Regions from separate parts of the Homo sapiens genome. Here all the other regions are linked to region 4. The links are contacts of gene promoters, found by promoter capture Hi-C in blood cells and fetal thymus (Javierre and others, 2016). All regions are on one chromosome and are shown on one strand. Each heading gives the region's core, a stretch centred on a gene start or on the middle of the fragment in contact. The rest is flanking DNA. Distances are from core to core; before and after follow the strand shown. Region 1 holds the start of LOC124900365 (small nucleolar RNA SNORD71). Region 2 overlaps DUOX2 (dual oxidase 2). Region 3 overlaps DUOX1 (dual oxidase 1). Region 4 holds the start of COXFA4L3 (cytochrome c oxidase associated subunit FA4L3).

Region 1 (6,312 bases), core at 2,994-5,493, 280 kb before region 4:
ATCTGGGCAGGACCTTTGATCAACAGTAGCCAGCACACTGCCCAGTGACCATCCACAGGACTGATGCCCACGTGAGCCCCCAGACTTAGTCATTATCTGACGACTCCAGTGGACAATCCCCCTCCACACACATTCACTCATAACGTAAGGTTCTCAGAGATCCAGAGGCAGAGAGTAGGGATGGTGTAGGAGGGTGGTGGTACCTGGTTCATGGTACTCTGTTACAGCAACAGAAAACAGACGAAGACAGGTCAGTACTCTTTAAATCTTTCTAGGTGGAGGGAAAGAACCTTCATCAGCCATCCTCCTCTCCTGTGGGATTGGAAAAAACAGCTCAAGATTTCCCCTCAGGCCAGGGCAAAACTGAACTAACCTTCTACTTTGAGAGGCACCAAACTAACTCCTGTTAACTCAAGGAAAGCCATAGAGCCATCTACTGGTCACAAGTAAAAGGAGGAAGTCATCTAAAAACAACACAAAAAAGTAAAAATATTCAAATTCATCTTTAATAACTTCACAGAGAAATGTGATAGGAAGCATCCTCTCATTCCCTTCAATATAAATACATGAGAATATTTTCTTAAATATAAGAATATATAAGAGACACCTGAAGTCAGATATGCCTTTAGTAAATGTGTTTAGGGAATTAGCATTGTAATATACTAGGAGGTCATCTAGTCCATAGTTCTTAGGTGCTCTTCAATTCTCTCAATTCTACATGTTCAAAATCTGTAAAAATAAGACACGAAGACACGAATTCATTTTTTAAAACCTGAAACCTGCAAGTTTAATTAAGGAATTCGAGATCCTGCAGTTTGGCTGACAAATGATATAGTCAGCACCCAATTTTCTCCTATTAGGTGATCTGCAGTACACAATCAGAGCCGCTAGGCCAATTTTCCTGAATGGTCATAAAGGTTTTTAACAAAGAAAGAGCTCCAAAAACTTGGGAATGGGATGAGGGCAATAAAGACTTCATTCAACCAGGGGCCCACTTTAAAGGGCAATATTGGATTGAAAAATTGAGCTACATCAGTTAAAGCACCAAACGGCCTTGCTGCTTAAAGATAGCTGATGAGTCATGTTCAACTCAACCTCCCCCTAACCTCCAGAGGCCTAGAATGTGACTCTAATGTAGTTTCTGCTTCCAAGTACAAAACCCAGACAAGACGCCCCGGCAAAGTCTCGGAAGAAACACCTTAGGGTCATTTTCACAGCCTATGAGCATCATTCCAATGCCCAGCCCGAGATATCATGCAGGGTACGGCGAATGCTACATTTGAGCACAGAACGTCTGACCTTCCATTTAGGGTCAGAAATTGGCTAATCTGTTTCTCAGACTTGCTCCACAGAAACTAAACCGACAGATCACGTTTAACTAAAACGATGCCAGACGCCATCCGTTCTCCAAAGAAATCTTCGAGACACGCTGGCCACATGCATCAAGTACACAGCGCCACCTACAGCATTATTGGTGCAATTCACCATCGCCCTCTTCACCGGCCGCACTGGTATCGCAGATACAGCCTGAGAGAATTGCTACATCAGGCAGACAGTATCTGACCTAGACTTTAAACGTCACAGGTATTATGTTTATTTGGGGATGAAAAAAAAAAAAAGAAAAGAACGTGCGATAGCAGGGAGGAGGCTGCGTTGATTGGTTATATGCCTGTCTGCTTTCTTGCTTGTTTCAGGCTAACATCATTGAATTCTAACATGGCAATTCTTTTTTTCCAAGATCTGCTGCAGGGAAAATCATCATGGCACATGTTTACCTATGTAACAAACCTGTACAGCCTGTATATGTACCCTAGGAACTTAAAATATAAAATAAAAAATAAACTTCAAAAAAGATCTGCTGCAGGAATTCACCAGGGTGTCAAATCAATCAGAAATAACCATCAAGAGCAGTTGACATGAAAATATGATGTGAAACTGTCATTCAGTCATCTGCCATCTATGAAATTAGAAAATAAAACCCTAGCTCTAGAATCCTCAAACTTGCAGATGCTGCAGTGGCGTGAGATCATAGCCAAAGGTTCTAGAAAAAGTCACAATCTTTTCACTAACTTCTAAAAGTCCGCCATATTTCCCATCTCTCTCATCTTCACGGGTCCTTTTATTTATGTTTTAATTCAAACTGATCAAGCATCTACTATGTGCTACAGAGATAAGATAGAAAGAGGAATAGATATATATATTATATATAATTATAATATATATAATTTATTATATATATAAATTATAATGCTTCGCAGTATAACTTTATCACTTCAATATAACATGCTGTATATACAGACCCATGTTTTCTACTTGCTTTTTGTTGTTGTTCAGAGAAGGATCACTGGGTCTGGGGCAATCAGAGAAGACGTCATGAGGACTGGAAAACCTTATTTCTTGAAGTTCAAGCTCAAGTATCAACAAGGAAGAAAATGCCAAATAGAAGGAATGATATGAGCGAAGGAGGTGTGAAGGTAGGGAAGTTCTAGATGTGCCCTGTGTAAAATATCGCTTGTGCATCCACACACACAGGTAGAAAGAGAGATAGACACACCCTCAATCACGCACCATTCACTCTATCCCCTTACTCTGCTTTATTCTTTCTCACAACATTTACTATTACCTGATGCATATGTATTTGTGTGATTACTGTCTCTTTCCAGGACAAGCTCCATGACAGCAAGAACTTCATTTCATTCACTGCTCTGTCCTCAGTGCCTAGTTCAGTGCCTGACACATTGCAGCTTCTAGATAAGTATGGAAAGGAGGAAAGGAGGAAGGGAGGAAGGGAGGGATGGAGGGATGGAGGGAGGGAGGGAGGAAAGAAGGAAGGAAGGAAGGAAAAGGAAGGAAAGAAGGAAGGAGGGAAGGAAGGAAGGGAGGGAGGAAGGGAGGGAGGGAGGAAGGAAAAGGAAGGAAGGGAGGGAGGAAGGAAAAGGAAGGAAGGAAGGAAAAGGAAGGAAGGAGGGAAGGAAGGAAGGAAGGAAAAGGAAGGAAGGAGGGAAGGAAAAGGAAGGGAGGGAGGAAGAAAGGAAAAGGAAGGAAGGAAGGGAGGGAGGGAGGGAGGGGAGGGAGGGAGGGAGGGAGGAGAGAAAAAAGAAGGGAGGGAGGGAGGGAGGATGAGAGGATGAGGAGGTGCTCATAACATCCACGGAGAAACACATCAGAGAGTCTTGGGAAACTTGATGGCCAGGGCAAATGGGGACAGAGTGGGGAGCGTCTTGAATGCTGGATGAGAAGCTTGGGTTTTTTCCTGCTTCTTCAAAGATGCCAGCATGGTCAAAAAATAAGGACAGTAGCTATGCTTTTAGAAGATTAATCTGGTGCAAATATTGGATGAATTTTAGGGAAATGAGACTAGAGGTAAAATAGCAGTTACTTTAAAATAGATAATGATAGTGATGGGTTACAGCCATTCAATAAAATGGGAATCAATGAGACCTTAGCGTATAAATAATTAAATAAATAAGTACGAAGTATAAGGTGGGTTTGGAATATCTTGTTTCAGAAAGTAAAGAAGTATTCAAAGATTGATACAGACGTGTCAAAAGGACTTGGGAGCCAGCCTGAAGGGAGTTTCACTGGCCAAATTTGGAAAATTTGACCTTTGAAATAAATAATGATAGTGATGATTTACAATCCATTGGATAAAATGAGAATCTATGAGGCCTTAAAGATATAAATAAACAAGTGGGTGAGAAGGGAAAGCCCTTCCTTACAGTGAATGCCAACTAATAAAAGTAGATAGGATGACAGAAATGGGAGATTATAGATCTTATTCTATGATGTGGCAACCATGATAGAGGAAGATGTCAATAATTGCTAAGGATGGTGGGTAAAGGTTCAGTGAGGAACAGGATATTGGTACAATGCCAGAATATCTCCCTACAAAATACTCATTAATCACAATGGAAAAAACAGTGGCTTTTTGGAGGAGAAATATGACAGAAACCAACTTGACAAAGTGGTCAAGGTAACACCAAGGGAAGAATCTACATTCTGCATCAGGAAGAGCACAGCATAATTTTCTGGAAGTCTTCCAGGAGTGCACGGCTTGAGTCTGGCCATGAGGACACATCGGACAGACCCAGGTCAGCCTTCAAAATCAAAAGTCATGCTATGGTTTGAATGTGTCCCCAGAAGTTTATGTGTTGAAAATATAATTCCCAGTGGGATTATATCTAGACATAGGTTTTTAGGCGGTAACTAAACTTAAATGAGATCATAAGGATGAGGCCCTAATTCAGTAGGACTAGTGGCTCTGTAAGAAGAGCAAGAGAGACCTGAGATGGTATCCACTGGCCCTCTCACCATGTAAATGCCTTCCACCTCCATCAAAAGGGGGCCCTAGACCTCAGACTTCCCAAGACAATGAACCCAAGACATTTCACTATGATTTGTCAAGAGCGAAGATTAAAGAAAAAAGCAGGGGCCAGGCATGGTGGCTCACGCCTGTAATCTCAGCACTTTGGGAAGCCGAGGCAGGTGGATCACTTGAGGTCAGGAGTTCAAGACCAGCCTGACCAACATGGAGAAACCCCGTCTCTACTAAAAATACAAAATTAGCCGGGCGTAGTGGCGCATGCCTGTAATCCCAGCTACTCAGGAGGCTAAGGCAGGAGAATCGCTTGAACCCGGGAGGCAGAGGTTGCGGTGAGCTGAGATCACACCATTGCACTCCAGCCTGGGCAACAAGAGCAAAACTCTTTCTCAAAAAAAAAAGAAAAAAAGAAAAAGAAAAGCAAAGAAAAGAAAAAAGGCCAGGAAGTTAGTAACATTTGTAGATAATCAGTGTTTATCAATGGCTTCACATTGATTTACAGCCCACCTCCCTCAAACTAAAACTTGAGGACTTCTCATGCAAAGCACTGCTTTCATGGAGATAGCATAGGGCATTTAGACCAAAACTTGGATTCTAGCTTTAGCGCCAATGCTTGCCATGTGGCATTACTGTAGTTGCCCCCCAAGCCTCAGTTTCCTTACTTGTAAAATGGATATGACAGTAGCAACTTCAGAGATAAAATATGCATAAACCAATCCCATCTATTTTATAACTAGTGAGTGTCATTGTTCAGAAATCAAACATTTTAGCACTGAAATATGCAGCTGGCTGTAATCGTGGAATGACATTGCTCTGCCTGGTTTTACTGGCTTGAATTTCTGACAGTGCTTCCAGCTGCCTAGTTTTCCATTCGTCCAGTCCTATTGTTTACATGGAATGACACCCAAGATTTCCTGAAGCTTATGGCTTTATTTGCACTTCTGGCTTTGCTGACTCCCCGTCGAGTGCTGTCAGCAAAGTGAGCAAGAGCAGCCCTGGGCTCATCAGCCACCAGCACTCTTGCCTTATTAGGAATGGTGGCCCTGCACAACAGGACCCATGGCGGCCAAGAACACACAACCTTGCTTGCAAGGGAACACCAGACAGATGTAACATGAGGAACGTCCTATTAAAACAACAGGGGGAAGGGAAGTGTCCCTCAATAATGTCAAGGTTATAAAAGACAAAGAAAGGCTGTGGAAATGTTCCAGATGAAGGAAAGCTGAAGAAACAGGACAACTAAATGCAGCCTGACCCTACAGGGGATTCTGTGCTGGAGGGAAAAATGCTGGAAAAAAACATCATTAGACCAACTGATAAAATTGGCATATGAACAGTAGATTAGATAACATATTGTATCAGTGTAAATGTGTGAGGCTGACAACTGTGCTGTGGTTATATAAGAGATCATCCTTTGTGTAGTATTTAGTACTCCTGGTATTATAATTTAGTATTTGGTATAATGTAGTATTGAGGATTAAAGGCCATGATGTCACTCACCTTTAATTCCAAAAAAAAATGGGAATGCATATATAATATACGATAGTATAAATAAATAAATATTTATATATGGATATACATCTGTATCTATATATAAATATGTATGTATATATATTCCACAAATTTAGAGAGATAGGAAGAAAGATAAAGAACATGAACAATAGGGCCGGGTGCAGTAGCTCACGCCTGTAATCCCAGCACTTCGGGAGGCTGAGGTGGGCAGATCACGAGGTCAACAGATCGAGACCATCCAGACCGACATGGTGAAACCTCATCTCTACTAAAAATACAAAAAATTAGCCGGGCGTGGTGGCAGGCGCCTGTAATCCCAGCTACTAGGGAGGCTGAGGCAGGAGAATCGCTTGAACCTGGGAGGCGGAGGTTGCAGTGAGCCGAGATCGCGCCATTGCACTCCAGCCTGGGCAAAAACAGCGAAACTCCATCTCAAAGAAAAAAATAGAACGTGAACAATAAAGCAAATGGGAGTAAAA
Region 2 (5,761 bases), core at 1,512-4,011, 320 kb after region 4:
CAACAACTACTGGATTCGGGAGGTCAGACTGGGGTCAGGGTCAGGGGAAGATGGGTCAAGGTCAGTCTCTTCACACAGGCTGGGAAAAGCAACAATCCCAGTTCTTGAGTGTTGCTGCCCCAGGTTCATGGGAGATGAAGGGTAGAGGAAATTATCCGGGGACAACAGTTCAAGAGAGTCTGGGACTGGCCAAGGGCCCTTTGTCCTGGGGTACTAAAGTGGTCCAGGCTGAGAGAGACCGAGTTTTGGGTAGAGGCCTATCTTGAGTGCATTGTTTACTTCCAGAACCCCAATCTGAACAGTACCCAGGAGGTGAATGAGCTGCTGCTGGGAATGGCCTCCCAGATTTCGGAGTTGGAGGACAACATAGTGGTTGAAGATCTGAGGGGTGAGCTCAGAGCCAGAAGGGGTGGATGGTAAGGGACCAGGAAGCCTGAGGATCCCTCTGGGTTCATCAATAGCAGACCTAGGGCGCTCACGATGCAGGAACACAGATACAAACACAGACTTCAAGGAGCCATAAGAAGAAAATGAACTTTGAACTTTTTTTTTTTTTTTGCTTAATTTACACTTTTGTGTTGCTTTTATTTTAAATTAACTATGTCTGAGTATTGGGGAGGGGTGGTACCACAATCTCTTTGGTGCTTAATTAGGTCTCTAAAGGTTTTCATTCAGCCCTGTCTTGAAACTAGGGAGGCATAGGACAGGGAATTTACTGCTTGGTGACTAGAACAGTCTTGAGTCTTAGAGGAAGGGTCTTACTGGAAAAACTGGCTCTGATCACCCATGGTGACATTGGCCTTGCAGCAAGGCAAGGTCAGCATGGGCACAGATCTCATGTGGATCACTGGGGGTAGCCAGGAGGGAAGAACCGTAGTGCCAATAGTCAGATACAAGGCTGCAGGGCAAAAAAGGATGGAGAGGACAAAGCCCATAGTCTAGTCTTCTCTCCTCTTCAGATTACTGGCCTGGCCCTGGCAAATTCTCCCGTACAGACTATGTGGCCAGCAGCATCCAACGTGGCCGAGATATGGGGCTGCCCAGCTATAGCCAGGCCCTGCTGGCCTTTGGGCTGGACATCCCAAGGAACTGGAGTGATCTCAACCCTAATGTGGACCCCCAGGTCAGGAATAGTAATGATAATAATGGCAGCTAAAGCTTTCCTATGGCAATACTGTTCCAAACCCTTTACATATGTTGACTCATTTAATCTACATAATAATATTGTAAGGTATGTATAATCATTTTCCCCATTTTACTGATGACATAGTTGGTAAATCATAGAGGAGGGACTTAAATTCAGCCATCTGATTCCAGAATATATTCCTAACCACTGCATTGTACCATTCCTGCAGGGTGGCTTCTGGGTTGGGTGCCATTGTCCTGTTGCTGCAGGGTCCCACCCCAAGGGCTGTGTGCCCCTGAAGCTGCTAATCATTGAGGTCAGGCAGGCTGGTGATGGTCACAGGATATGGTCCTAGGGCACCTGACCGTGGTGTTACCGTGGGTAGGGACACACTGATCCTTCCACCAGACTTGTCCTGCCTGAGGGGGCTTGCCTAAGAAGAGGAAATCAGGCCTGAGCAGCAGCCAGGCAGCGGCTGAGGTTCTGTGCCCGAGGGATGGGGCAACAGTGGCTGCCCTCCGCAGCAAACATACGCTCACCCCTTATCTCCTGTGGTGCCCCAGGTGCTGGAGGCCACAGCTGCCCTGTACAACCAGGACCTATCCCAGCTAGAGCTGCTCCTTGGGGGGCTCCTGGAGAGCCATGGGGACCCTGGACCCCTGTTCAGTGCCATTGTCCTCGACCAGTTTGTACGGCTGCGGGATGGTGACCGCTACTGGTTTGAGAACACCAGGAATGGGTAAGGCTTGCCTGGGCCCCCACCTCAGACTGCTCCTCAGCCTGAGCCCCAGACCCTCTGTCTAGCCTTAGACAGCCCCTATGAGCCCTTGATTCCCAGTCAGCCCACCACACCCTTCCCAACCCCTCTGGGTCTCTCTTTTTTTCTTCTCTTCTCTTTTTCTTTTTCTTTTTCTTTTTTTTTTTTTTTTTTTTTTGAGGCAGAGTCTAGCTTTGTCACCCAGGCTGGAGTGCAGTGGCGTGATCTTGGCTCAATGCACCCTCTACCTCCCAGGTTCAAGTGATTCTCCTGCATCAGCCTCCCAAGTAGCTGGGATTACAGGCATGCACCAACATGCCCGGCTAATTTTTTTAAAAAATATTTTTAGTAGAGATGGGGTTTCACTATGCTGGTCAGGCTGGTCTCGAACTCCTGACCTCAAGTGATCCACTCGCCTTGGCCTCCCAAAGTGTTGGGATTACAGGCATGAGCCACTGCACCCAGCCCCTCTGGGTCTCTTTTCTCACCTGGGTCCTTGGGCCTGGGGTTGCTGGAGGCCTGCATCCCCTTCCCATCCCAGTGACTTCTACTTCCTCCAACTTAGGCTGTTCTCCAAGAAGGAGATTGAAGACATCCGAAATACCACCCTGCGGGACGTGCTGGTCGCTGTTATCAACATTGACCCCAGTGCCCTGCAGCCCAATGTCTTTGTCTGGCATAAAGGTGAGTGCCGTGGGAGAACACAAGTGAGTGACAGTGGCCAGAGAAGGATCAAGATTGAGGGTGCGGGGGAATCACTTGGTGCTGTCCAGGGAGCCAGGCACCTTCTGTGTTGGGCTAGGAGGCCTGCATTTGGCTGGCTCCCACAGCAGGGACCTCAACTAGCACACAAGCTACACCCTACAGTCAAGAAGGGGTGGATGGGGTAGATGCCAAGAGACAGGAAATGAATGGGGACTTTTTGAGGGAGACAGTTTCAGGGAGGTGGGCCTGGGGAAGACAGATGATACCTTGGTCCTTTATAGGATAGAGGGGAAAGAGGTCTGGCCACATAGCGGGATCCTCAGACTTTGAGGTCTTCCCTGCCCTCTCCCTCAGGTGCACCCTGCCCTCAACCTAAGCAGCTCACAACTGACGGCCTGCCCCAGTGTGCACCCCTGACTGTGCTTGACTTCTTTGAAGGCAGCAGCCCTGGTTTTGCCATCACCATCATTGCTCTCTGCTGCCTTCCCTTAGGTGAGCTCTTAGGCAGCCTCTCTGCAGACTGGCCCTGCCCCTCATTTCCTGCTGGCCTGAGGGGCTGGCTATTTGGTACCGTTTGAGACCAGGCTCAAGGAACCTCTGGAAGGGAGGGGCCATAGCCTAAGCCACAGTGGAGCTCTAGGTGAGGGGCTCCCTCCTCACTGTTCCTTCTGATCCACTTCAGTGAGTCTGCTTCTCTCTGGAGTGGTGGCCTATTTCCGGGGCCGAGAACACAAGAAGCTACAAAAGAAACTCAAAGAGAGCGTGAAGAAGGAAGCAGCCAAAGATGGAGTGCCAGGTGAGCAGGGGCTGGGCAGAGGAGGGAGGAGGGACGGAGGAGGGGAGAGACAGGAGTCTGGGAGAAAGAACCAAGTTACAGAGTGAGAGGAAAGCCAAGGCACCTTTAGGGCGCCTGCTCAGACTCACAGAGGAATTGACCTGAAGGCGGGGACCTGGGGACATCTGCTGAACTACCCGGCCCAATTATCCCTTCCCCAGCGATGGAGTGGCCAGGCCCCAAGGAGAGGAGCAGTCCCATCATCATCCAGCTGCTGTCAGACAGGTGTCTGCAGGTCCTGAACAGGCATCTCACTGTGCTCCGTGTGGTCCAGCTGCAGCCTCTGCAGCAGGTCAACCTCATCCTGTCCAACAACCGAGGATGCCGCACCCTGCTGCTCAAGATCCCTAAGGAGTATGACCTGGTATGGCTCGTCCTGCCTCCCCAGCCTGGGCTGCCCTCACACGACTCCATTATCACAAGCGAGGCCACCCTATCCTCAGCTACAGAGCTCAACTATGACAGCTGATGCTGGGGAGAGGGGCTCCTTTCAGAGGCCCCCAGACACAACCTGACCCCCTTCGTCCACACACCTGGCCCCAGCCTGGATGGATGGGGAGGAGTTTTCTCTCCTCCCCTCAACCCAAGATCCATTGAGGGGAGGCTGAAGCAGAAGGTCCAGCGAGCTCCCTGCGTCAGTGCCGCCTTCCTCCCACCCAGGTGCTGCTGTTTAGTTCTGAAGAGGAACGGGGCGCCTTTGTGCAGCAGCTATGGGACTTCTGCGTGCGCTGGGCTCTGGGCCTCCATGTGGCTGAGATGAGCGAGAAGGAGCTATTTAGGAAGGCTGTGACAAAGCAGCAGCGGGAACGCATCCTGGAGATCTTCTTCAGACACCTTTTTGCTCAGGTGCCATGACCTGTGCCTTTTGGAGATGGGTCCAGCCCCAGAAATGGAGGAAACCTGGGCTGCATAGAACGCCCCTGTGGGTGAACTAAGCTTCCGCTCTATGGCCTGGAGAGAAATAGCCTTGTTTGAATCCTGGCATTGCCACTTTACTTAGCTCTGTGACCTTAGGCAAGTCACATTATCACTGTTCTGTATCTCTGTTTCCTCATCTATAAAACAGTGATGAAAACTGTATCCATCCCATTGCATTGTTGTGAGGATTCGGTGAGATCGTCTACATGAGTGGTACACAGAGGTTGGCCTCTGGACCCGAGAGCATCAGCCTCACCTGGGAACATGTTAGAAATGCACCTACCCAGTTAGACTGAACCAGGAACTCTGTGGGTGGGGCCTGGCAATCTGTGTTTTAACAAGCTCCCCAGATGATTCAGATACACTCTAATGTTTGAAAAACATTGTTTTATGTACAGTGCTTATTGGCCCAAGTGCCAGGTATGTTGCAGGCATTTAACAAACGGTTGTGGCCAGGCGCAGTGGCTCATGCCTATAATCCCAGCACTTTGGGAGGCTGAGGCGGGCAGATCACCTAAGGTCAGGAGTTCGAGACTAGCATGGCCAACATGGTGAAACCCCATCTCTACTAAAAATACAAAAATTAGCTGGACGTGGTGGCTCACACCTGTAATCCCAGCTACTTGGGAGGCTGAGGCAGGAGAATCGCTTGAACCCGGGTGGCGGAGGTTGCAGTGAGCCAAGATCATGCCACTGCACTCCAGCCTGGGTGACAGAGCAAGACTCCATCTCAAAAAAACAAACAAAAAACAATAAATGGTTGTTACATGCGACTTTTAAACTTTTTGTGCAATGGGCAAATCATAGGCACATGGCAGCCTTATCTGAATTGGCAAGAGAGCACAGCCCCAGCCCCTTCCTGCCTGTCTACCACCATGTCTCTACATCTTCTGTCCCCAGTATAGGCTCTCTCACTTTCCATTCCCCTTAACTTCGCCCTTCCCCTTCCCTACCCCAGCACCATGCCCACTGCATGAAGTTCCCGGTTCTTGGGCCCAGGGAGAAATGGGCAGGCTGCTAGAGATTTGATTCCCCCGTCTATAGGACAACAGAGGCCCCAGTCAGTATATCTAAGGATCAGGAGAACCATCAGAGTTTAGCCTTTCTGATTTGGACTTTGGGGAGATATGAAGGGTCACTGAACTGCTTCCAGCATAGGCTTCACCTCCTTCTCTTTCCCTCCCTCTGCTGCTGCCCGAGTGCAGGTGCTGGACATCAACCAGGCCGACGCAGGGACCCTGCCCCTGGACTCCTCCCAGAAGGTGCGGGAGGCCCTGACCTGCGAGCTGAGCAGGGCCGAGTTTGCCGAGTCCCTGGGCCTCAAGCCCCAGGACATGTTTGTGGAGTCCATGTTCTCTCTGGCTGACAAGGATGGCAATGGCTACCTGTCCTTCCGAGAGTTCCTGGACATCCTGGTGGT
Region 3 (6,136 bases), core at 2,232-4,731, 270 kb after region 4:
ACTTGCCTTGGCCTCCCAAAGTGCTGGGATTACAGGCGTGAGCCACTGCGCCTTGCCCCTACCAGCTCCTTTGTCCCTGCCACCCAAGGCACCTGCCAGCTCCACTGGGCCCGACCAGGAGACTGTGCGGTCTAGACTCTGCCTCTGCCCGGTCAGCTCCCTCAGTGTCACCAAGCTGATCTCCTGCCAGGCTGGTACCTGAGGGCAGCAGCTCCGCCTTCACCACGCTGATCTCCACCTTCTTCCGGCTCAGGCTCACCAGCTTGTCGCCCCCATAGATGATTGCTGGGACCAGGAAGAAGATGTGGAAACGGGGCAGCTGGATCAGGGCAAAGCTACCATGGATGATGAGCTAGATGGAGGAAAGAGCTCTGCTCAGACCTAGCGATGCCCATAGCAGAATACAGGGCCAGCTCAGGCCTTAGACCCTCCATACTTCCCCGCTGGTATATCCAGCCCCCACCTCACCACGTACCATGCTCCTTCTAGGTTGCAAAACCTCACCATTCCCAACTCCATCCTCCATAGCATTCCATGAGGAATTAGAGTATTTTCTAGATCCCTGACACCACCCTAGACCAAGTGATGTCACCTGTCACCTGGACTCATGCAGGAGCCTTCCAGTGGAAGTAGGTCTTCTACTGGTCTTGTCTCACTGTAATTCCTGTCTCTTCAAGGCAGCCAGTGTGACTTTTTAAAGTTCATTTTATCCTGTTCATCCCCAGCTTTAAAAGCTTTGGTGGCCTTCCCATTGCACTACAAGGCCTCACAAGTACTCTTGACTTCTGCCTGCCAGCCGTTCTCCCCTCCCTGTTCCTCAAACACGGCCAGTCCTTTCTGCTTAAGGATCTTTGCATCTCCTGCCTGGAATGCCCTTCTCCTGGTTCTTCCCATGGCTAGCTCCATCTCATTTTTCAGGTCTCAGTAGAAACACCACCTCCTCAGGCCTCCCCTCAGTCCTCTCTACCACATCTGCCTGTTAACTCTCTTAGTGCATGCGTTGTCATCCACAGTACTTTTGTTTTTTGGGGGTTGGGGGGACAGAGTCTCATTCTGTCACCCAGGCTGGAGTGCAATGGCATGATCTTAGCTCACTGCAACCTCCGCCTCCCAGGTTCAAGAGATTCTCCTGCCTCAGCCTCCCGAGTAGCTGGGATTACAGGCACCTGCCACCAAACCCAGATAATTTTTGTATTTTTAGTAGAGATGGGGTTTCACCATGTTGGCCAGGCTGGTCTCGAACTGACCTCGAATGATTTGCCCACCTCGGCCTCCCAAAGTGCTGAGATTACAGGTGTGAGCCACCGCGCGCGGCCAACAGTACTTTTGCTTCCTCATTCATTTACATGTTTACTGTCGTTTTCCCCACTGGACTGAAGGGGTAGGGACTGTTTGCCATTATAAGCTCCTAGCAGTTTCTGCCTGGCATATGATAGGCACACAGTAACTGTTGGGGAAAGGCGCTTCCCCAGTTTATCCTCTCCTTTTCCAGGCTAAGAATACCTAACTAGTCTCCCTTTTCCATGTAATAACTGACAAGTATCATCCAGCTCTGGTCCTTTCCCTAATAAGTTTGTCTAACATGGTCAGACACTACTTGGTCACATTCTTCCCACTTGCTTGCTCCTGAGTCTGGCTCAGTTTGACTTCTGCGTCCACCTCTCCTTAGGACCTTCCCACTGAGGGCCCAGCAGCCCCACAAATGGGTAAAATATATCTTTTCAGGCCATGTTGGCTCCTACTCTTAGAAGCCTGAGGCACTAGTGACCACCTCCTTCTCGCCACTTCTGCAACAATGCTCTACTGGTTCTCCCACTTTGGGCCACTCGCTTTCCATCTCCTCCACTGGCTTAATTCCTTCTGCCACCCCCAGTCATGGGTGTTGCCCAAGCCTGGTTTTGTCACCCTCTGCTCATCTCTTTCTATGCTCCGCCATGTGGCATGGCCTCTCAGCTGAGCCACAGCCCCTCAGTTTCAACTGCAGCTGCCACATGATCACCAGCAGCATGTCCTGCCACCACCTAATGCCCTATGGCCATCTGCAGCCAGCCCTGTCCCCTCTGCCTCCTGAATATCCTATCACCATTCCCACCTCTGCCTGTGCTCATGCCCTTCCTTTTACCTGGATTGCTCTTCAGTTTCCACTCTGCCCTGTCAAAGCTTAGCTTACCTCCCCCAGACCCTTGGCCCAAGTCCAGTCTTCTCCTCAAAGTCTTCCCTAGCCAATTTAGCCCAAGTGAAACTCCCTTCAGTGAACTCCTATAACTTACTGTTTGGAACACTCCGCTCAGCAATTAATCCTATATCAAGTGTTCATTTTGATCATTTCATGCATGTGCCACTTTTTGTCACAGCGAATCCTAAGTTCCTAAGGAAGAGATTAGAGTCTCCCCTTCTGCTGCTGGGCCCTACAGAGAGCTAGTACATAAAAGACCCTCCACAGATACACAGATAGCTGCTTTTTTTTTTTTTTTTTTTTTTTTTTTTTGAGATGGAAGTCTCGCTGTCACCCAGGCTGGAGTGCAGTGGTGTGATCTTGGCTCAATGCAACCTCCACCTCCCTGGTTCAAAAAATTCCCCTGCCTCAGCCTCCCGAGTAGCTGGGATTAGAGGCGCATGCCACCACTCCCGGCTAATTTTTTTGTAGAGACGGGGTTTCACCATGTTGGCCAGACTGGTCTCCAACTCCTGATCTCAGGTAATCCACCCGCCTCAGCCTCCCAAAATGCTGGGATTACAGGTGCGAGCCACTGCACTCGGCCAACAGATAGCTTTTAAACTGAACTCTGGTTCCCCATTCAGGCGTTCCCTTCCCCCAGCTAAGTCTTCCTAGATTCTTGAACCTTTCCCTACAAGACTAACTTAAACCTCTCTGAGCTCTTCTTTGAACTGGCTCTTTCTTCCCCAAGTTCACTGTTTCATTGTGGAGCCCACACCCACCCCTAAGGCTTTCTGAGCATCCAAACAGGCTGAGTACAATGGCAGGGTGACGTCATGCTGCTCTGTTTCTACACCCTATTTTGTGCTGGCTTTCCTTTTAAACCACAAGGCTGCTGCAGATTCCTTGTTGGCTGGTGGGATGGGGTGGTGGCTCAGCCAGCTCAGCCTCTGATGTGCTAGCCCTGCCCTCTTCTGCCTGGATCAGAAGCCTGGCCATCCTTCCCCAGGGTCTAGTCTATACTGGGGTCCTTTACTTGTAATTTATCTTTCTGCTTGAAGTCAAGTGGTCACGCCTGGGACAAGTGGGAACAAAGAGGGTGCTCTTGCCCTGATCTCCCTGAGATGAGATTGTCCCAAACTGCTGGTGAGGATAGCCTAGCATAGAGGCCTCCACCTTTCTTTTTTCCTTTTTTATTTCTTTTTTTTTTTTTAAACAGGCTGTCCATCTGTTGCCCAGGGTAGAGTGTAATGGCATGATCTCGGCTCACTGCAACCTTCACCTCCTGGGTTCAAGCGATTCTCATGCCTCAGCCTCCTGAGTAGCTAGGACTATAGGTGTGCGTCACCACACTCAGCTAATTTTTGTATTTTTAGTAGAGACGAGGTTTCGCCATGTTGACCAGGCTGGTCTTGAGCTCCTGGCCTCAGGTGATCCACCCACCTCGGCATCTCAAAGTGCTGGATTACAGATGTGAGCCACTGTGCCCGGCCACACCTTTCGAACCCCTGACTTTCCTGCTGGCAGGAAGGGTGGCTTGGAATCCTAGTGATGCCTACACCCCAGGACAAATCAGAAAGGGCTCTGGGTCTTAGGGAGCCTGCCTGGCCACTCTTCTGGATCTCTCATCTAGTTCAAAGTAGCTGCTTTATCACCAGGAACAAGAACGTCATTTCCACCCCCAACAGAAGCAGTAGCCGAGAATGCTAGGGCTCCACTCATTATTGGGAAGAGGAGGAGAGAGGGTAAATTAGTCATAGCTTCCAAAGAAAGAGATGTTTCTTAGGAAACGCATATCATCAGTTCTAGGAAACATCCTAAGCCAAGGCTAAGTAGTCATCTTCAGAACTGTGAAATGCTGAGCAACAGGCAAGATGAAACAGACCCTCCTATCTGTCAGTGAGGACAGAACTGCACCTGAGAGAAGGCAGGTCAGATGGCAGGAGCCAACCTGACCGAGGCCATGGTGCAGTTTCTCTTTGTCTCGGCACAAAGGAGAGCCCTGTATGCAGTTCTGCTGCAGGGAACAGCTGGAGCCTTGGGATTTGGTTTAGCTTCTAAGTGAGGCCCTCAGAGTACCCTTTAGGGAATTGCCTCTGCTCATGAGGAAGGCAGACAAGCAGAGCCACAACACAGGGACACAGAATCAGCTCGGGAACTAACCAGCTAGGCAGCCGATGAGAAACCCAGGGGAGGGTGAAGGGAACATGAGAAGGGAGGCAACATGGAGAGAGGGAGGCAGGAGCCAAGGTTAAGGAGAAGGAAAGGGGATAGGTAGAGTCTTAAAAATCTATTTGATTGGCCTGGCGCGGTGGCTCACGCCTGTAATCCCAGCACTTTGGGAGGCCGAGGTGGGTGGATCACGAGGTCAGGAATTCGAGACCAGCCTGGCCAACATGGTGAAACCCTGTCTCTACTAAAGATACAAAAATTAGCCAGGCATGGTGGTGCGTGCCTGTAGTCCCAGCTACTCAGGAGGCTGAGACAGGAGAATTGCTTGAACCCGGAAGGCGGTGGTTGCTGTGAGTTGAGATCATGCCATTGCACTCCAGCCTGGGCGACAGGGCGAGACTCTGTCTCAAAAAATAAAAAATAAAAATTCATTAGATCAACAATCCAACTGAAGTCATTTTGAACAAGCTTATATACTGTACAGGTGGCACTTAGCAGGTGTGACTAATGCCCCCAAAAATAGGATCAGAACAAAAGTGGCAGAACCCATTTAAGATAAGTTTCTTCAAAAAGGGTGATGCTCTCTTGGGTGCAGGTAGTCCACCCAGGAGCCAAAACCAGCCACCCAAAGTGGGGAAAGACTAGCTGGGCAGAAGTGGGGTGGAGGTGTCTGCGAGGAATGGAGATCAGTCTGGCAGGGCTGCTACTGCAAAACCCATGCCAGGGAGCCGAGCTTCCAAGTGCTGCATATTGGGGTCATCCTAATGGAGAGCCCTGTACTATCATCTCCACCTTCAAAGAGGGACGTCGAGAAGTGAAGAGGATGCTTCAAATAGCTAGAAATTGAATGAATGTCCCAGCTCTCCTTGCCTCCCTGGAAATGTCCTGCCCATACCCTCCTGGCCTGGCTCACAGCCAAAAGCCCTCACCAGGACATAGAGCAGGATGTAGAGGTGGTGGGTCAGCCAGAAGCCCCGGAAACTGCGGCGGCGGAAGTGGTGGGAGGCAAAGACATACATGATGGCCAGGATCAGGAGCAGCACAACCCCCGTGAGGCCTGCAAAATGAATATAGGGTGGAAGGCAGAAGATCAGTGCCTTGAAAGGGAACTGTTCTGGAGCTTCCAAGGTCCCCTCTCCACTCCACTGCCCAAGTTGGAGTAAGAATGTCCCAGCATTCTCCTCTGGTCCTCTCCCCCAACACCACTGATCACAGGTACCTTTCATTTCAGCAGACATTGTTCACTTTTCATAGCCCTTGTCACCATGATTTTTTTTTTTTTTTTTTTTGAGATGGAGTCTTGCTCTGTTACCCAGGCTCCCTGGAGTGCATTGGTGCAATCTCGGCTCACTGCAACCTCTGCCTCCCAGGTTCAAATGATTCTTCTGCCTCGGCCTCCTGAGTAGCTGGAACTAAAGGCATGCACCATCATGCCCAGCTAATTTTTTTTATTTTTAGTAGAGACAGGGTTCTGCCATGTTGGCCAGGCTGGTCTTGAACTCCTGGCCTCAGGTGATCCGCCCACCTTGGCCTCCCAAAGTGCTGGGAATACAGGCATGAGCCACCACACCCAGCCAATTTTTCACCAATGTCATTATTTGGTTTTTGTCTGTCACTTTCCTGACTCTCGGGTTCTCAAGAATGAGGAACAGGCTAAGCTAGTTTGCCACTGAATCCTAGTGCCTAGTGCAAGGGCCTGGCACACCGTGGGCCCTATATAAATGTGTGCTGAATGAATGGATGCAGAGGGTGTCCACTCTGGGCCCTCTGGGCCAAACAATGGAAATGACAGGCTGTACTCTCATC
Region 4 (5,886 bases), core at 1,555-4,054:
TGAAATTTCATGGTTCAAATGTATTTTTCTCCCATAAAAATATTTTCTCTTCCATTTAAATATATACCTAATCTTTGAGAAATCTTGCACAAATGGCATTTTATTAAAGAAAATCTAATTTACAAAGCTTTGTAAATTTTAAGAAAAACATTCATAGATCATAAACAAAAATTTCAATATGCAATATTCAAATTTACAAGAAAATAAGCACAAACTTTTAGACAGTGCAGTTATTGCTGCACTCCTTTAATTCCTTATCCAGAGCCCAAAAAATGTAGACAAACCCTAAAAATGTAGCAGAAGCATTTCCGCACACTGGTGTCCAGAATCTAGTTTGTGCAGAAATGTTTCCACTAGATTTATAGAGTACTCTTCAGAAGAAAGAGGCGAGGGCTCGTCATTTGGTCACCCTTTGGACATTTTGCAACTCTTCAATGGGTTTCCATTGTTGGTTGATTGTTATAAGCTGAAGAGAAAAAAGGAAAAAAAAAAAACCTTTTGTTAAAAATTTGACTTTCATTTGCATGTCCCTCTTTCGGATTTGTCCACACTCCCCTTTAGAAAAAGCATCACCATTGTGTTTGTACCTACCTCTTTCCATATCTAAAACATGCACAAAATAGTAATGTGAGCTGGTTTCTATCAGTCCATCTTTTTACAAAGCCCTTGGGCTCCTAAGTGTTATGAGATCAGAGGGAAAGATCAAACACATGTGCCCTACTTTCACTTAGCAGTATCCAGATTTTTTTTTAAGACAGTCTTGCTGTGTTGCCCAGGCTGGAGTGCAGTGGCACAACTGCAACTCACTGCAGCCTCCGCCTCCCATGTTCAAGCAATTTTCGTGCCTCAGCCTCTCCAGTAGCTGGGTTTACAGGTGCGTTCTACTACACCCAGCTAATTTTTGTATTTTTAGTAAAGATGGAATTTCACCATGTTGGCCAAGCTGGTCTCGAACTCCTGACTTCAAGTGATCCACCCGCCTCGGCCTCCCAAAGTGTTGGCATTACAGGTGTGAGACACCGTGCCTGGCCGGTATCCAGATTTTTAAGTTTGCCAGGTATTATGTGAGCCATAGTTCCAAAAGTGTATATGCTTCTCATGAGTGGATGGACAATGCTCCTGGCATAGAGTAGGCTCTTAAAATTTCCTCATTTTAATTACTCGATGAAGGCACAATTGATCTAAGTTACACAATAAGGGTAAGGTACTAAATCTATTTTGCTCACAAAGGTGCTAAGGTTTGGGCAAAATATAAATCATTTGTTTTTAATTTAACAATACCTTTTGAGGTACAGTAGGGTCCACAGTTTCCCAAGGTTCTGGATTTTTTTTTCGATCAAGGCTAAAATTAAAGAAAGCCAATTAAACATTAAAAGATGTGAATTTAAACCAACACTGATACTGGGTTTATAAACATGTTAGGGACAAAACCAGTCTCATACTAAGGCATGTGTCTGCTAATGATCAGGAACCATCAGTAGCAACTAAAATTGATTGAAAATTCTCTAAGGGAGTTTCATGGTGTGGCTCAAACATTAAACATCAGTTCCCCTAAAGGGTAGGAGGTCTGTATTCTCTTGATTGGGCTGCATTGGGGAAGGATCCCACAAACCAAATAACCATGGGAGTGAAACTGCCAAGCCAAGGACATGCAATAATGTTCTTATCTCAGTCTGTGGGAGGGGCAGGTTGAACTCTGCAGGTGGTGAACTCCAGGGCTCTAGGCTCCTCTGCCAGCGGTTAGAGGACTGCCCTCTCCAGCCCTGCACCAGCCTCCAACAGTTTCAAGTTTATCTTTTCCTCATATTCCAGGATACATGTTTTTGTTTTTTACTTTCTTCTACCCAAAGTTGAGATTAGGTTCATCGTAGACAACTGAATCTATCAATTCTACCACATTAGTAAAAATCTAATAAGCTAAAATTTAAAATTTTAATTAAAATGATTGTTTCATGATATATATCTCCCAAAACCACTGAAGAACTTTAAATTTCAAAACTTAAAAAAAAAAAAACAAGCTTTACTTCACTGCCAGAGAGTGGAGAAGGGCCAATGGGTAAAAGAATAAACACAAGAAATAAACTAATTTGATTAATATCATGGGTTTTTTTAAATTTTTTCTTTTTTTTTTCTAATTTTCATTTTCTGACCCATTGGTAGACAATATCATAAGAGTTTTCTGATAAAAGATGCTTTTTAACCCTGACTCCCAGTTCACAATTTGGCATTCTCATCCATGGGAAAAAAATAGGAAACTTATACATTTCATAAACTAAAAGTCATCCAAACACTGCCAAAAACGTTTTTATAAATTGAGACCTACTTACATCACATCGGTTTTCCAAAGAGAATACACAGCGAAAGATGAGGCTCCACCCGCCGCCACAGTCATGAACACCACCAAGGGAATGAGCTAACAAATAACAGGTGGAGGGGACACATTTGGACACTTCAATATGAAACATTTGAAACACAGCAAAACAACTGTATTTATTTTATACTTTGTTCAAAATCTGTGCCATCTTTTCATCTTTAAAAATGAAAACTTTAGTCAAGATTTTCAATTGTTTTTAAAACTTACTTCCTTCCTTTTCATCAGGAGTTGGAAAAAGCTCATGATGACTTCAGCGAAGAATTGCCAAATCTAGAAATTAAAAATCCAAAGTATTGATCGCCTGGTGGGCGCCAAACCGTCCACCGCGCTCCGCAGGCCAACTGCGGGCCGGCGCGTCCGCGTCTCTGCAGATGGGAGACTCACCTGGACGCCGGGCGGTGCGCACGGACGATGGTAACGCCCGGAACCGAACGGGCCGGCGGCCTCCCCACCTTATATATAGCGACCACAACCGCCCCGGGTGGGCCGGGCCAGCGCGCTCTGGTCACGCGCGTGGGGCGGGGAGCGCGAGGGACCTGACTCGCTTTCCCCGTTGGGCACGCGACTCCCGGGCGCCCCCTGCAGGACATTCTGCGGCTGACGTGAAGCGCCCGAACGCGGGCGCTGGCGCCCCCTGCCGCTCGCCGCGGTCTTCCTTACCTGCCGACCCCGGTCGCTCTTGGCCCCCCTAGGTGCTTGTGAGGAGTTTGGAGGTTTGGGGAGTAGGAGGTGGAACCCCCTAAGAGGGGAGCGCAGATAGCCGAGGCCTGAGGGAAAGCCAACCCTTCTAAAAGGGTATCCGGGCCTGGCGCGGTGGCTTAGGACTGTAATCCCAACACTTTGGGAGGCTGAGGCAGGAGGATCACTCGAGTCCAGCCTGGCCAACGTGACGAAACCACGTCTCTACTAAAAAAAATTAGCGGGCGTGGTGCTGCATGCCTGCAGTCCCAGCTACTGAGGAGGGCGAGGCAGGAGAATCGCTTGAGTCCAGGCCTTTGAGGTCGCAGTGAGCCAAGATTACACCACTGTATTCCAGCCTGGGCAACAGAGCGAGACCCTGTTTTAAATAAAATAGAATAAAACAAAATATTTAAATAAGCAAATAAACAATAAAAGGGGGTCCGGAAAAATGAGCTGCAGACCGGAGGGTCCCAGGAGAGGCTCCCAGGTGCAGGCGGGTAAATTAGAATTAATCCAATCACATTAAAAGCTCCAAAATGTGGTCTGTGCACCTATGGAGATCATTAAAATTAAATTGTAAAGTTTATTTCAGAATAACTCCCAGGGCGTCCTGACTTTTTCTGCTAAAAAAAAAACCCAAAAAAACAAAAACAAACAAATAAACACAATAAAACAAAAACCCGAGGTCGAGGGAGAACAAACAAAAGAATAAGCTGGGGAGGCTGTCAGGAGAAGGTCTTTCTGCAAACGACCCTGCCGGCTGGTTTAGTCTTTGGGTTCCCTCCTAACTCTCCTCTAAGCCAGCAACCTCACTTTGCAGTTTGCAGGCGGCTGCAATGGTAACAATTTCACAGAGCCAGGGGCTGTGTGTGTGCCAGACACTGAGCCAGATTCCCCTCGGCAAGGTGGGTGCAAAGTCTTATTAAGACTCAGAGAGGCTCTGGTCACGTCACTGGTAAGTGGCGGCGATGCCATCAGAACGCAGGTCTGTCTGGTGCCCAACACCATGGTTCTGTCTGCACCCCTCTGTTAAATACTGCAATAAGTAAAGGACCAGTTATTTTAAAACAAACAGTTTGAAGTTCAAGCTGTAAGTTAAAGTTAAAAGGCAACATCTTAACGTTCCCTGAAATTGGCTAGACCCTGCTGTGTTTCAACCCCATTTTCATTCTAAACCTGGGTTTTGTAGTCAAATGGACCTGAGTTCAGAGCCTGCCCCTGCTATACTTATTATTAATAGCTGACTTTAAGTAAACTACTTAACCTTCATGAGTTTCAGTTTATATATCTGCAAAATGGGGGCAAACCTGGCAGGGGAGAGAGTTGGAAAAAATGTTAGAATATATGTAAAGCATTCTGTCCTGCTTGTAGTAGGCACTCAACAAATAGTTACTATATGCAAAGATTTGGTTTTTTGTTTGTTTTGTTTTTTGAGCCAGAGTCTCGCTCTGTCACCCTGGCTGGAGTGCAGTGGTGTGATCTCGGCTCACTGCAACCTCTGCTTCATGGGCTAAAGCGACTCTCATGCCTCAGTCTCCTGGGCATCTGGGAATACAGGCATGTGCCACCACGCCCCGCTAATTTTTGTATTTTTAGTAGAGACAGGTTTTGCAACGTTGGCCAGGCTAGTTTTGAACTCCTGACCTCAGGTGATCCGCCCCCCTCAGCCTCCTAAAGTGCTGGGATTATGGGTGTGAACCACCACGCCCAGCCTCAAAGATTTGTTTTATGTAAGGCTGATCATAAATGTAGTTTCCCACTCCCTTACTCTGGCAAGCGTTCTTACTGTTTAACCCCAGAACTGTAACTAGAGACATTTGCTAATTGGATGGATCTACGTTATATACTTCAAAGAAAATTCAACATTAATTCTCCTTGGTTTGTATTACCTAGAATCAGAGAAGCCTTTTAATGAAAGACTTCTAAGGCTACTTCTGTCAGAAGATTCTACAAAAAAACCTCATGTTATTAAGAAACAGAAGTTTTTCTAGGATGGAAGGAAGGGAGGGAGAGAGAAAGAGAAACAGGACGAAGAGAGAGAGAAGAAGAAGAAATAAATTTTACATTAGTATTTCATGAGCCCAAAATTGAAATTAAAAATGTGTAGCCATTGCCTATTAATGACCTTAAACACAGAGCCGTGCTTTGCCAGTATCATTTCTTTTCAAAATGTAATGCAGTTTTTTAGTAGTCTAGGCATTATTCTGAGGATGGGGGCATAGCAGAATTAAAAAGAGTAGTAAGACACAAATCACTTACTTCAAGGTGCTTGCAATTTAGTAACTCTAAATAACTCTAATGCAAGGCATGATCTGTTGCCAAGACAGGTGATTAATTCTAACTAAGGGGGTCTGAGAAAACTTACCAAAGGTGGGGTATTTATTTGAATATACAAAAAGACAAATCAACTGTAAAAAGACATTTTGGGGGCAAGTGGGAAACTTAAATAGGATCCAGACATTAGATGATATTAAAGGGATATTGTTAAGTTTCTTAGGTGTGATAATAGTATTGCAGTTTATATATATATATAACTGCAATATATATATAACTGCAATAACTGCAATATATATATATCTCGGCTCACTGCAACCTCTGCCTCCCAGGTTCAAACAATTCTCCTGCCTCAGCTTCCCGAGTAGCTGAGACCATGGGCGCCCGCCACCATGCCCAGCTAATTTTTGTATTTTTAGTAGAGAGGGGGTTTCACCGTGTTGGCCAGGATGGTCTCAATCTCTTGACCTCGTGATCAGCCCGCCTTGGCCTCCCAAAGTGCTGGGATTACAGGTGTGAGCCACCGCGCCTGGCCGGCGATTATATTTTTTAAATGG

What was found. The method cuts DNA at HindIII sites, captures the fragments that hold promoters and counts their contacts. A CHiCAGO score of 5 or more calls a contact.
Region 1: a fragment that was not itself captured here is called in contact with the fragment with the promoter of COXFA4L3 in region 4 in 1 of 17 cell types (monocytes); the score reaches 5.7 in monocytes.
Region 2: a contact is called between a fragment that was not itself captured here and the fragment with the promoter of COXFA4L3 in region 4, in 4 of 17 cell types (fetal thymus, naive CD8 T cells, non-activated CD4 T cells and 1 more). The highest score is 6.0, in fetal thymus.
Region 3: a contact is called between a fragment that was not itself captured here and the fragment with the promoter of COXFA4L3 in region 4, in 17 of 17 cell types (M2 macrophages, monocytes, erythroblasts and 14 more). The highest score is 19.8, in M2 macrophages.

What each region holds. Positions count from the first base shown.
Region 1 is chr15:45,709,845-45,716,156 of GRCh38, reverse strand. All of the region lies in intron 1 of LOC105370802 (a long non-coding RNA gene), which reads right to left. LOC124900365 (small nucleolar RNA SNORD71) reads right to left here and starts at 5,342; the gene lies at 5,284-5,342. RefSeq lists an enhancer at 952-1,246. The HindIII fragment of the contact is 2,001 bases long and covers 3,243-5,243 here.
Region 2 is chr15:45,104,151-45,109,911 of GRCh38, reverse strand. DUOX2 (dual oxidase 2) reads left to right here. Exons shown (of 34, transcript NM_001363711.2): 10 at 1-22; 11 at 286-388; 12 at 960-1,123; 13 at 1,690-1,865; 14 at 2,449-2,567; 15 at 2,943-3,080; 16 at 3,271-3,384; 17 at 3,585-3,787; 18 at 4,084-4,269; 19 at 5,547-5,761. Among named protein-coding and RNA genes, the nearest start is that of DUOX2, 7.1 kb to the left of the region's middle. The HindIII fragment of the contact is 3,201 bases long and covers 1,161-4,361 here.
Region 3 is chr15:45,155,053-45,161,188 of GRCh38, reverse strand. DUOX1 (dual oxidase 1) reads right to left here. Exons shown (of 34, transcript NM_175940.3): 28 at 5,260-5,387; 29 at 199-352. Among named protein-coding and RNA genes, the nearest start is that of DUOX1, 28 kb to the right of the region's middle. The HindIII fragment of the contact is 2,638 bases long and covers 2,163-4,800 here.
Region 4 is chr15:45,427,528-45,433,413 of GRCh38, reverse strand. It overlaps COXFA4L3 (cytochrome c oxidase associated subunit FA4L3), which reads right to left and starts at 2,804. Exons shown (of 5, transcript NM_197955.3): 1 at 2,759-2,804; 2 at 2,582-2,644; 3 at 2,328-2,413; 4 at 1,282-1,342; 5 at 74-466. The coding sequence starts at 2,617. The coding sequence ends at 398. It overlaps MIR147B (microRNA 147b), which reads right to left and starts at 364; the gene lies at 285-364. RefSeq lists a silencer at 2,782-2,861. The HindIII fragment of the contact is 4,531 bases long and covers 2,021-5,886 here.